Linked DNA regions of Homo sapiens: region 2 is linked to region 1. The links are contacts of gene promoters, found by promoter capture Hi-C in human tissues and cell types (Jung and others, 2019). All regions are on one chromosome and are shown on one strand. Each heading gives the region's core, a stretch centred on a gene start or on the middle of the fragment in contact. The rest is flanking DNA. Distances are from core to core; before and after follow the strand shown. Region 1 holds the start of BICD2 (BICD cargo adaptor 2). Region 2 has its middle 31 kb from the start of LINC00475.

Evidence for each region. The method cuts DNA at HindIII sites, captures the fragments that hold promoters and counts their contacts. A contact is called where the count stands out against the background at its distance.
Region 2: a fragment that was not itself captured here is called in contact with the fragment with the promoter of BICD2 in region 1 in 1 of the 25 tissues and cell types used here (lymphoblastoid cells).

Annotation. Positions count from the first base shown.
Region 1 is chr9:92,761,315-92,767,332 of GRCh38, reverse strand. BICD2 (BICD cargo adaptor 2) reads left to right here and starts at 2,500. Exons shown (of 7, transcript NM_001003800.2): 1 at 2,500-2,828. The coding sequence starts at 2,589. RefSeq lists silencers at 908-957, 1,810-2,549 and an enhancer at 4,373-4,532. The HindIII fragment of the contact is 19,809 bases long and covers 1-6,018 here.
Region 2 is chr9:92,169,444-92,175,461 of GRCh38, reverse strand. It overlaps the pseudogene BEND3P2. Among named protein-coding and RNA genes, the nearest start is that of LINC00475, 31 kb to the right of the region's middle. RefSeq lists a silencer at 1,882-1,981. The HindIII fragment of the contact is 6,217 bases long and covers 1-5,908 here.

The DNA of each region.
Region 1 (6,018 bases), core at 1,251-3,750:
AGCCAATCTATGACACATTCTCCTCAGACAAACAAAACACTAAAAAGAATCAGGGCTCCTTGGGGAAATGACTGATTTCAGGTCTGGGACATGGAGAGCACAAGATGATCTTGGAACAATTTGCATCAGACATCAAGGAAGTAATAACAATAATAACAAATTACGATGTTTTGAAGACATGGAGCCAGCTTGGAGGAGCTCCCACGGGCCAAATCTGCTACCATTTGAGCATCAAAGCAAGTAAGGAAAGTAATGGATTGTAACCCACGGAGTAAAATAAGAATCCATGGATCCATACTGCTAATGAATGAGAGAGAAGGGAATAGATGAGAAGGTATAGGTGCCTCACAGTACAAAGGCAACTCATAAATGGAGAAGGACTAATGGAAATAGAAAAGCAGCCAGTATGGCTGGTCGCGGTCGCTCACGCCTGTAATCTTAACACTTTGGGAGGCCGAGGCAGGCAGATCACGAGGTCAAGAGATCGAGACCATCCTGGCCAACATGGTGAAACCCACTCTCTACTAAAAAAAAAAAAAAAAAAAAAAAAATTAGCTGGGCATGGTGGCATGCGCCTGTAGTCCCAGCTACTCGGGAGGCTGAGGCAGAATCACTTGAACCCGGGAAGCAGAGGTTGCAGTGAGCCGAAATTGCATCTCTGCCCTCCAGCCTGGGGACAGAGCGAGACTCTGTCTCAAAAAAAAAAAAAAAAAAAAAAAAAAAAAAGCAGACAGTATGGTAATAATTATTTCAGGCAAGAAGTAGTCATGAATGCCAAAACCAGTGGGTCAAGGTTTGAGGAGTCATAGGCTATATCTATGGTTGCAAAGTCTTCACTCATGACACTAATTACCAAAGAAAAACCCAGCATCAATCAGAGAAATGCAAATCGACATCACATACCTCCCGGCTGGTGCTCTGAAAACTCAGCAACACCTCAGTGACAGTCCTGCCAGAAACGCATCACCTCATCACCCCATGAGCATATACCAGTGTGCACTGCACTCCTCAGAAAGGTCAATCAAAGGAGACTCAGGAAACCTGACGACTGAATGCAACTGGATCCTGGACCACAAAAACAATACTGAAACTCTCCAGTATGGTGTTGGGCCCTCGTGCAATTAGAGTGTGGACTGTGCATTAGATAGTGTCAGTACCCTGTGTGCTGTGATTTCTGCTGTCATGGCTTCTTTCTAATTTGGTCTTGAGGGAGAGTGACCATAAGCCAAGATAGCCACTCTCTAGGAGAACCGAATGGGTGTGGGGTTCAGGTGAGATACAATGAGAAAGTAAAATTAAAAGGTACAAAACAGAAGGAATTTATTATTCTTAGGTTCCGGAGAGGTTAGGGATGCCTAAGAGAGGCGGACAAGCAGATGGAGAGGGGCAGTGAGAGACGGTGGGAAGGAAGGGACTATGGCTGTGCTAGGGTCCATGGAAATCATCCTTTAGGATTTCCCTTGGGGCCTGTGGACTGGCTAAAGAAAATACGAGGGAAGGGTGAACTCATCTGCACTGATACTGGCCATTAGGTGCTATGGCGGTCAGCGGCTGTGGGGTGTGTTGCGCTTTAGGTCAATGAGATAAAGAATAAACGAGTTATCTCACACACCACCATATACGGAGAAGTGTTACCTACGCCAAGGCGAAGGGTACGACTGGCTTTCAAACAACTTAAGTCAGGCCTAAAAATAGATGCGGAGACAACAATTATATTTACCACGTTTATGACCCTGTATTAATGGAAATGTCTTTATTCCCAAGAAATAGACCTTGAAGGACTGAGGGGCGGTGCTGAGGTTCCCGCTGGCCCCTGGGCGCCCCCTGCTGGCCCGTCCTCCTCCCGCCCCCAGACGTCTGCACAGAGCATGCGTCACACCGTCCACGGGTTTCCAGCAGCAGCCGTTCACCCGCGCTCTCGGATGCGCTTCTAGCTCGTGGCCTCCCGGGCTCTGTCCGCGTTGTTCGTCCCACGGTCGGGAGCCCAGTCCTGCCGCCCCGCACCCGCCTCCCCCTGGGGGTTCTCCCGGCAGCCGTCTTGCCACCCCGCGTGGCCGCCGGCTGCCAGAGGCACAGGGGAGCGCGAGGCCCGGCGACCGAGCAGTGTCCCCGGCTCTGAGTGTGGGGAAGGCCGCGGGGCCGCGCCCACTCGACCGCCGTCCAGGGGACTGCAAGGCGCCGGTACATCCGGCTCGACGCTGGCGGCGCAGGCCAATCACGGACGGGGACGGGTGGGCGCGGGGCTGGACGGGTTTTGTAGTCGGTGCGCTAGCGGGACTACTGTCCCCACAGCCCCCTGGGCCACATTGGCGTCAGTGGCTGCGCCCGAGGGCCCGCCCCTCACAGAGCATGGGCCAATCATAGCCGGGGGCCGGGCGGGCGCCGGGCATGATGGACCTTGTGGTCGGAGCGCAGGCAGGACTCCAGCCCCCAGCGGGCCCCGCGCGCCGGAGGGGAGGAGCCGTGCGGCGGCGCGGGCGGGCGGGCGGCCGTCGGGGCAGGGCGGCGGCGGCGGCGGCAGCGGCGGCGGCTGAGGAGGGCCCGGCCTGCGAGAGCCTCAGTGGGAGCCGGCTCAGCCCTCGGCCACCATGTCGGCGCCGTCGGAGGAGGAGGAGTACGCGCGGCTGGTGATGGAGGCGCAGCCGGAGTGGCTGCGCGCCGAGGTGAAGCGGCTGTCCCACGAGCTGGCCGAGACCACGCGTGAGAAGATCCAGGCGGCCGAGTACGGGCTGGCGGTGCTCGAGGAGAAGCACCAGCTCAAGCTGCAGTTCGAGGAGCTCGAGGTGGACTATGAGGCTATCCGCAGCGAGATGGAGCAGCTCAAGGAGGTGAGCCGAGCCGCCCTGCCCTGCGACCCCCGCCCGGCGCCGGGGCCTGTGGGCGTCGTCCCTGGCACCAGGGCGGCCAAGGTCAGCTTGCCAAGCGGGGGCCGGCAGGGGTGGGCCGCCGGGGCGGAGGGGGCACGGGCAGTATGTGGGAGTGGGCCCGGCCTTGGCTAGCAGGCCGGTGCCGCGGCCGTTGCAGACGCCGCTAATGCAGGGGTCCGGGCGCCTTGTCGCCTCCTGCAGCTGCCCGCCTGCTTCTGTGCGGACCTGGGCGGCCCCGGCGGGGCGGGGCTTCGTAAGGGCTGATGCTTTGCGGTGGTCGCTGTTCCGGGTGTGTCTGAGTGTGGGGTGGGGTTGGGAGGGCAGTGGCTGAGCCGGGAGCTGAGGCCACGGATGCTGGTGACCCGCTGGGAGAGGCCGAGGGTGGGCCTGGGTCTGGGTGGCTGCGGCTCTGTCACCTTCAGAGAAAGCACTTCCCCTCTCTGGGCGCAGCTACTTTCGGAGCGTTTCTGCTTCTTTCATGAGTGCCTCCGAGGTGGGGAAAGGTCGTGGACAGCGGCCTAAGTGAGTAGGGGCTCGGGGTTGCACGTGGAGGTTGCCCCTGGCATGGGTCCCCCAGTACCCTTGCCCCAGGCCCAGCGCTGTGTCCTCATGGCCGGGATTGCGCTCCCACCAGCTAGCATGACTTCCCTGGCCCACTTCCTGTCCAGCCCCGCTTCTCGGGCCCTTCCCCTCGCTGTGGCTTGCTGTGTTCCTCTTGGACGGAGACCTCAGTGGTCTGTGTCATTCCCACTGGGGGGAGAGTAGGTTAGACCACCAGGCTGGTCGAGGGTCTCCAGGCGGCAGGGCAGCGGGAGTCTTGGACAGTCCTTCCCCAGCTTCTCTTCTCCCGTTCCCTGACTCCATAGCGTTGTTTGCAGGAATTGCTTTCTGGGAGGATACACCAGGGTTTGGATCCAGGCTGTGCCCCTTGCTAGTGATGTGGCTTTGGGTAGAGGCCCTCCGTGAGTCTTAGTTTCCCCCTCTGCAAAATGGGAGTGCAGTACTGCGTGCCCAGAAAGGATTGTTGTGAGGGTCATGTATTTGGAAAGGACTGGTGTGCGGTCAGGAGTATAGCTTGGTGGTGTGCTCCCTTCCCCCACTTGAGTGTGTCCTGGTGAGCCCTTGGCTCTTGGTTTCCAGGCTTATCACCTGGCACCTCTGCTCCCAGTCAGCCCAGACAGGTGCCTAAATCATTTGCAGCCTTCCTTGCCTCCCCCGTGTCTGAGGAGACCCGTCTGTGGAGAGCAGAGAATGAATCCAAGCAGATGCTTGGATGTCTGGGCAGAGCAGGTGCTCAGTTAGTACCAGTCAATGGCTGACCCTGGGCCAGCAGGAGCTGGGTCCTCCCCCATCGCCCTCAGGACTCGATTCTGTTGTCTGTCAGCAGGTATTGGCACCTTCTGCAATGCATGCTCCAGTGGCGCTGGAGCTACAAGAGGGGTGAGATGCAGCTGCTCTTGCAAGAGTCCCCATCTTAGGGTGGGGCGTGTGATAGGGAGGCAGGGGGCTCTGAGAATATGGAGTGGGAGTGGACTCGGCCAGTTTCTGGTCTCCTGTAGCGGGGCTCACCCTCTCCAGCAGGCAGCACTATCTGTTAGGGCGCTTTTCCCTCTGCACACAGTGAAGCAGCCCTCTTCCTCCTACCAAGTGCATCGTGAGCCGCTCCTGGGCAGCCTCTACAGTCCCTGTCTCTGTCCACAGCTTGGGTTTGGCAGTGTCCTCTGTGAGAAGGAATTGTCGCTGACTTAACTTGTCCCCGCTTTGGTGCCCTTCATTTGTCAGGTCTTTGCTATTCTGACACAAACGTTTTGGCACAGTGAAGAATCTTGGCATTTTCGTGGCATGTATCTGGAGGGTGAGTCCCTAGCAGAATCAGGAAGAGGGTATACCTGTTTCTGTGGGTACTCTTTAGGCGTCTGCTTGCTTGTTTTTTGTCACCACCTGGCTTCCATGTACTGGCCACATGGCCTTGGACAAATTACTGCTCTGTTCTGAATCTAGTTCTCCTTTGTAAGGTGGGATAAGAATGTTTCTGCTCGGTCTCTAGCAGAGTCTAGAGGAATGTGCATCAGCGTTTCAGTTTCAGTAGATGTTGCCAGAAAGTTTGTACCAGTTCACCCCCCATCAACAGCATGCGTGTTCCTCACACCCATGCCAACACAGGCTCTTGCTAACCTATTTAATTATGGCCAGTATTATAGTTGAAAATATTAACTCTTCATTTAAAAAAAACCACAAGATTTAAGGAGTCAATAATTGTGGGGTTTTTTTTCTCCTGTAGAGCGGTGTACCGCCTTAATTCTTTAGAAAACTTTATTTCTTGAACTAAAGTGCATTTAGTTACTAATAAATTGTGCTCCAAATGGAGTTGCTTGTACTTCTGCCCTGCATTTGTAGATAATAGGATCGTTGAGGGAAGGACGCTGGCCTGCTGGTCCCAGTGTGTGGGTTTCTGATCAGAGCTGAGGAGGGTCTTGTGGTGATGAATGGGAGACAGTGCCAGTCCTGTTGCCTTTCTCATGGGATGGGGGAAGTGTCTGTGTCCTGCTGACAACATAGCACGGTGCTGGCTGAGACCACAAGTGAGGTGGGTGCCCCCTGGTTGATTTTGCCTAATCATTCTGCTAGTGATTTCTTGAGCCTGACTCAGTTAAGACCATATCTGTCCCCGTTCCCACTGTGCCCTTTCCCTTCCTCTCCCTGGAATGGTGGGGAAGAGAATTAGATGGGCTTTGGTCAGCAACCTGGTGTTCCTGGTCCTGCGTGGCCGTGAGACACTTTGTTCTGTGTTCTTAGCTGTAGCTTTAAGAGGACAGGTGTGCTGAGGTGGCAGCTCCTGCCTTCAGGGCACAGGCAGGGACTGTAGCTAGGTGGGCTAAGGCTAGGTGCCCATGTGGTCCTCATGGTCAGGGGAGGGTAATGGGGGAGGTCTGAGAACAGTCTTGACTCCACCTGAGCTCAGGCTCAGAGAGGAGGTCTGGACACCCTCACTGCCTTGGTGTGCCACCTTGGTGTCATAGTGTCAAGCTCTGGAGCACCATTGTCCTTGTCTGAGAGGTGCACGTGGGTGGAATTGGGTGTTGGACTGGGCACAGCACCCAACACGCAGCAAGTGCTTCGTAGGTCTTCTGCGGACTGAATCTCATGCCTC
Region 2 (6,018 bases), core at 1,551-4,050, 590 kb after region 1:
GAGGGCCTGCCTGTTATACACCTTATGCCAGGGGTTAGGTGATTTCCTGTCCTCCTGGATGCTCTCAGGCCTCTAAACCAAAGGGTGGGGATACATACCTAGTCCACGCGACAGATCAAACAAATCTCAGTTCCTGCACAGTTAGTTTCCCTGTTTCTTGAAACCAATGTAAGTGCTCAGTATCCTTATCCTGGTTTAGTTTATTTTTAAAGATAAACTGCAGCCTATTAGGGTTGAGTAGGTTTTTTTTTTTTTTAGATGGAGTCTCGCTCTGTCGCCCAGGCTGGAGTGCAGTGGCGCAATCTCCGCTCATCGCAAACTCCACCTCCCGGATTCACACCGTTCTACTGCCTCATTCTCCCGCCTCATTCTCCCGAGTAGCTGGGACTACAGGCACCCGCCACCATGCCCAGCTAATTTTTTAAATTTTTAGTAGAGACGGGGTTTCACCATGTTAGCCAGGATGGTCTCACTCTCCTGACCTCGTGATCCACCCGCCTCAGCCTCCCAAAGTGCTGGGAATACAGGCGTGAGCCACCACACCCGGCCAGGGTTGAGTGGCTTTTTAAAGATATCATAGGTAGTATGTAGTGGAACAGAAATTCAAACTGAGATCTCTCTTGAGAGAGCTCAATCACTGTTCTTTCCACACCCACAGACTGCACCCAAGATGCCTTTTATCCAAGCCTCAGACACCTGAGGGAGGCTTACTCTGACCTGTCCCCAAAGTGAGCCTCAGATATCCACTCCTGAAGAGAGAGACGAGTAGGGCATGGAGGGCCCTAGAGTCATCATCAGGGCCCCCCTGTTCTCCCAGATGGTGCACGGGCATGGGCTGCTGCTTTTGTTGCCAAAGTCATCCCCAGACAAGCTATGGGAGTGAAATGAAATGAACCAAGATCAATTAAAGACTTCCAGTTTCCAGTCTGGAGTATAAGAAGCTTGGAAGTCATCACTCCCATTCTCAAAACAAGAAAAAAAAAAGCTGAACAAACTGAAAGTCAACAACTCTTCTTAGATCTGTCAGAGAATTGAGGTCACAGGGCAGATTACTACCCTCAAAACTGGAGACAGGCAGATACAGAGAATCACGGTTAATCTGAAGGGAAGCTCAGATGTAAAAGCTGGCTATTGGAGCCAATCCCAGGGTAGAAAAACCTAAACTGTAATTGACAAAGTGCTGAGGGTTCAATGTGGATGAGCTTGACAGTTAAAAACTCCATGTCCAGTCTTAGGAGAGCCCCAACTTTCAGGAGTTTTACCTTCAGTAGCCTTACCAGATTCTCAGGGTGTAGATCAGAGAAAAACCCCCTCCTGATTTTGGCAGGACGATGGGAAAAGTAACCATTTTGAAATAAAAGCAGAACATTAGTTCTACTTTGCAAAAACCTATCCTTAACAGAAAATATTTTTACCAGAGCCTAATGTATTGGGGTTTTATCAGAGTCTAACTGAGTTGCGGAAAGAGAAGTGTCAAACTCCAGTTCCCTGTGCCTTCCTGTCCCACCAGGGACACGGGCTACTGAGAAGCACATGTGCAGGTCACAGCCTAGGAGCATAGGCTCACTGTGCACTGTGCCTGGAACCTAATTACAGGATTATCGAACATTTCCTCTCCCACATAAGTGCCTCCTCACCACATCAGTAGGACTTTTGTATAATAAGGGAATTATAATGGAAGGAATTGACTGTCTCAGCACTTATTTAAGAAGGAGTCTCTAGGGAAACTCAAAGACAAGCGGGGAGATACTAACAAGGACACCTGAGTACATTTTGCCTCTGACACCTACAGCAACACCAAACAGTGAAGACAGTCTAACTACCAGCCAGATAAACACAAGAGCCTTACACAAAAGACCTCTTTACCTCTGTTCCTTTTGCCCAGTGTATCATGTCTCACTTTCAACCAAAAAAAGGGAACTAAAAGGTACTAAAAGTGAGCACACTAAAAGTGTACTAAAAAGTCTGCAGATGAGCCACAGCTGCGTAGGGTCCAGCTGCTTCTTGTTGCAAGCCCGGGAATGATTGTACTGCAGCGGGAGGTTCTTGGCAGTGGAGGAGCCCTGCAGCCAAGTTGCCCACGGAGAGGCTCTGCTGCATGATCTCGCGCACCTCCTTGTCGGACAGCAGGTAGGGAGAGGGCACCGGGAAGCTGGGCGAGGGACCACCACCTTGTCCAAGGGGATCTTGCAAAAGTCCTTCCTGCTCCTCTTGGGGGCAGCGGGGGACCCTCAAACTCCTCCTCAAACCTCTCAGGGTTGATTGCATAGCTCCTCATGTCTCTGCACTGGGGGCCAGCACGTGGACCTTGCACTGCTGCTGGTAGGAGCGCCTCTGCTCGTGTCCCGGCGCAGGTTGCCCATGAACTCCAGGGTCCAGAAGCGGTCGTTTTTGGCATGGAGGTAGAGCAGACACACATACTGGCGAATGAGCTTGATGCAGGACAGGTCCAGCTGCTTCTTGCCCAGGGAACCGCTGGAGCTGTACTGCTTGTGCAGGTTCTCATGGGTGAAGAGCTTGGGGAACAGGGGCACCAGCAGGTGCAAGGCGAAGTTGCCAATGGACAGGCTGCTCTCATAGATGCTGTGCAGATGCTCCTTGCTGAGCAGGCAGTCGGTGCCAGGCACCTCCAAATTGGGCTGGGGGATCTCCAATTTGTCCAGGTTGATGAGTACCAGCCAGATCTTCTTGGAGCGGCGCTGCTCGCCCTTGGAGCTATCCTCCACCCTGATTACTGAGATGTCATCGGGAGGCTGGAGGAGTTGTAGCAGTCATCACGTGGGGGGCTCGTCTTCACTGCCCGCATCCAGCCTCAGGCCCTGGAGCTTGTCGTTGATGCGCTGGGCACACTGCTGCAGCCAGGCCTCCTCCTCCTGCATATGGGAGAAGTAGACCTCTGTGTAGTTGCAGATGATCTGCAGCCTCTGCGGCTCCAGCTCCTGCTTGCTGCCATCCCCATAGCAGCTGTAGTACTCGCCCAGCTTGCAGTGGTCAAAGAGCTCAGGGAAGAGCCAGTGGAGGAGGAAGACAGCATATTCGCTGGGCGAAGAGGCTTCATCCAGGAACTCGGTGAGGTCCTGCATGTCCACCACGTGGTCTGAGGCCATGGTGCTGCTCCGGTCCAGAGACAGGCCGTCCTCCTCGTCTTTGTGGTCCAGGAAGTGGCCGGGGTCCACTGCTCGGCCTCAAAGAAGCTGGCAGCCTGGCCACCGGGCTGGCTGTTCTCCATCTCCCTCTGGGCCCAGAAGTGGCTGAAGAAGTTATTCAGCTGGGGCAAGCACTCGGCCTGTCACACGGCCATGTCCTTCACCGAGGGGTAGTAGACCTCCACGTAGTTGTGGATGAGCTGCAGGTGCAGTGACTCCAACTTACGCTTGGCCTCAAAGCTACAGGCACTGCAGCCTCGGGAGAAGTCAACTGCAGCTGAAGAGCTTGGGGAAGAGCTGCACCAGTGGGCAGCCTGCCAAGACCCCACCCGACAGGCTCTGGTCCACCATCTGCTTGAGCTCTGCGGCCCATGAGCTGCTATGCGGTGGTGGGGGCAGCTGGAATTTGGCCACCATCTCAGTGGGGTTCACCTTCAGGGAGAGTATGTCCATTGTGCTGTGCAGCTGGGACCTGTTAGACTTGAGGGTGTTGAACATGTAGAATATCTTCTGGATCAGGAAGTAGATGTTAGGGTCACTGTTGGTGGCCACCCCAGTGCTGCCATAGTCCCACTTCTGTGGCTCATTCAGGAGCCTAAGTGACGAGGGTCTGTTGCTGGCATTTACCTTCTGGAAGAGCTCATATATGTTTAGCAGGTCCCCTGAGGGACGGTTCTTCTTCTCCATGAACTTGTGTGAGGTGCCATACATAGGCTTTTTGTAGTAAGGGGTGGTGGCATGGTTGCAGAGCTCCTCCTTGCCTGGCCACACAGAGCCTGAGCTCCTGCCCTGCTGGCCTGCTCTCCATTGCCTTGGCAGGGCTAGATTTTCTCAGGTTCCACATTCGTGCTAGGAGCACCTCTGGGATCAGCTGCCTCCTCTCTATGCTGGGGACGGACTCTGGCTGGCCATTGCTGACCAGTCAAGTCCTGGAGGGCAGTGAAGATGCTTTCCAGAGGGTGTTTCTCAGAAGTCCTGGAATTCATGGAGCTGCCTAGAGCAGCAACTTTGGCCTGTCTCCACTCTCACTTCTTAGAAGTTCTTCTACATCTTCACTGAATTCAGTTGAGTTCATCTTCTGTTCCAGTGGGACTCGAGTTCTGTACTTTACTGAGCAGCCTGAGCCAAGTTTAGGCACCCAGTGGTGGGGAGGGTATGGGGCCAGGGAGTGGGAGCAGTGCACAAAGGGCCTGGCCAGGGCGGCTGGGGGAGGCGCCGGGGGCGGCAGACAGCCAGGCACCGTGTATTTCCCCTCTCTTTGTGAGTGTCTGTGTGCTGCGCTCTCATGTGACATGACAGGACTCCATGTGACATTTCTGCACAGGGACACAGGAGCCCTTGCTGCAATGGAACTGCAAACCCTCCACCCACACCTCCGGCCCACCCCTCCCCCTCAGTGGGGCACACGAGGGCTATTTCCTTCTTATTTATTTATTTTTTATTCTTTTCTTCCTAGACTGCTCAGCAGAATAGAATAATATCATGTATATGTGGGTTTCAGAAATTTTAATTCTTTATTTCTAGGGTTCTTGCATATACTTGGGATGTATATTTGTGAGTAGCATGGATATAAGTGTATTTTTAAATAGGAGTTGTTTTAGGATGCTTTGGGGTTGAAAGTATATGCATAGTTTATGATGTGATAGAGTTTAGAGGTATTGATTAAGGGAAGTGTTTTATGAATTTTGTCAAATGTATTTTCTGAAATAATTGATATTTTTCCTTTATTCTATCAATGTGGTGTACTGCACTGATTGATTTTGTGCATTGAAACCATCTTTGTTGAATGGTGTTGAACTATCAGTACCATTGATGTTGAACCATCTTTGCTCTCCAGGAATATATCCCACCTATTCCTGGTGGATAATCTTTTAATGCACTGTTGTGTTTGGTTTGCTAGTATTTTGTTGAGAATTTTTGAATCAATATTATAAGGGATATTGTTTGCTAGTGTTCTTTTATTGCAGTGTCTTTGGCTTTGGTATCAGACAATGCTGGCCTTGTAGAGTGAGTTTGGAAGTGTTACCTCCTCTTCAATTTATTGGAACAGTTTGAGAAGGATTGATGTTAATTCTTCCCTAAATGTTGGTAGAATATACCAGTAAATTCACCTAGTCCTGGGCTTTTCTTGGTTGGGAAGTTTTTGATTACTGATTCAATCACCTGATGAGTTATAGGCTTCAGATTTTCCATTTCTTCATGATTCAACCTTGGTAGATTGTGTTTTTGTAGTATTTGTCTATTGCATGTAGATCATCCATTTGTTGACATACAATCATTCATAGTTCTCTCTTATCTTTTTTATTTCTGTGAAATCAGCAATATCCCCTCTTTCATTTTGAATTTTAGTTGTCTTCTCTCTTTTGTCTTGGGTAACCTAGCTAAAGATTTGTTAGTTTTTTTGTTTTCTTTTTTTTTTTTTTTTTTTGAGACAGAGTCTAGCTCTGCCGCCCAGGCTGGAGTGCAGTGGCGTGATCTCAGCACACTGCAAGCTCTGCCTCCCAGGTTCAAGCAATTCAGCCTCCTGAATAGCTGAGACTACAGGTGCATGCCATGATGCCTGGCTAATTTTTGTGTTTTTAGTAGAGACGGGTTTCACCATATTGGCCATATTGGCCAGGCTGGTCTCAAACTCCTGACCTTAGATGATCCACCCACCTTGGCCTCCCAAAGTGCTGGGATTACAGGTATGAGCCACTGCACCCAGCCCTTGTTTTTTCATTTGTTGGTTTTGTTTTGTTTTTTCTTTGTTTTGTTTTTTTTCAAAGAACACATGATTTTGTTGATTTCCTTTTTTTTTTTTTTTGAGATGGAGCCTCGCTCAGTCACCCAGGCTGGAGTGCAGTGGTGCGATCTTGGCTCACTGCAAGCT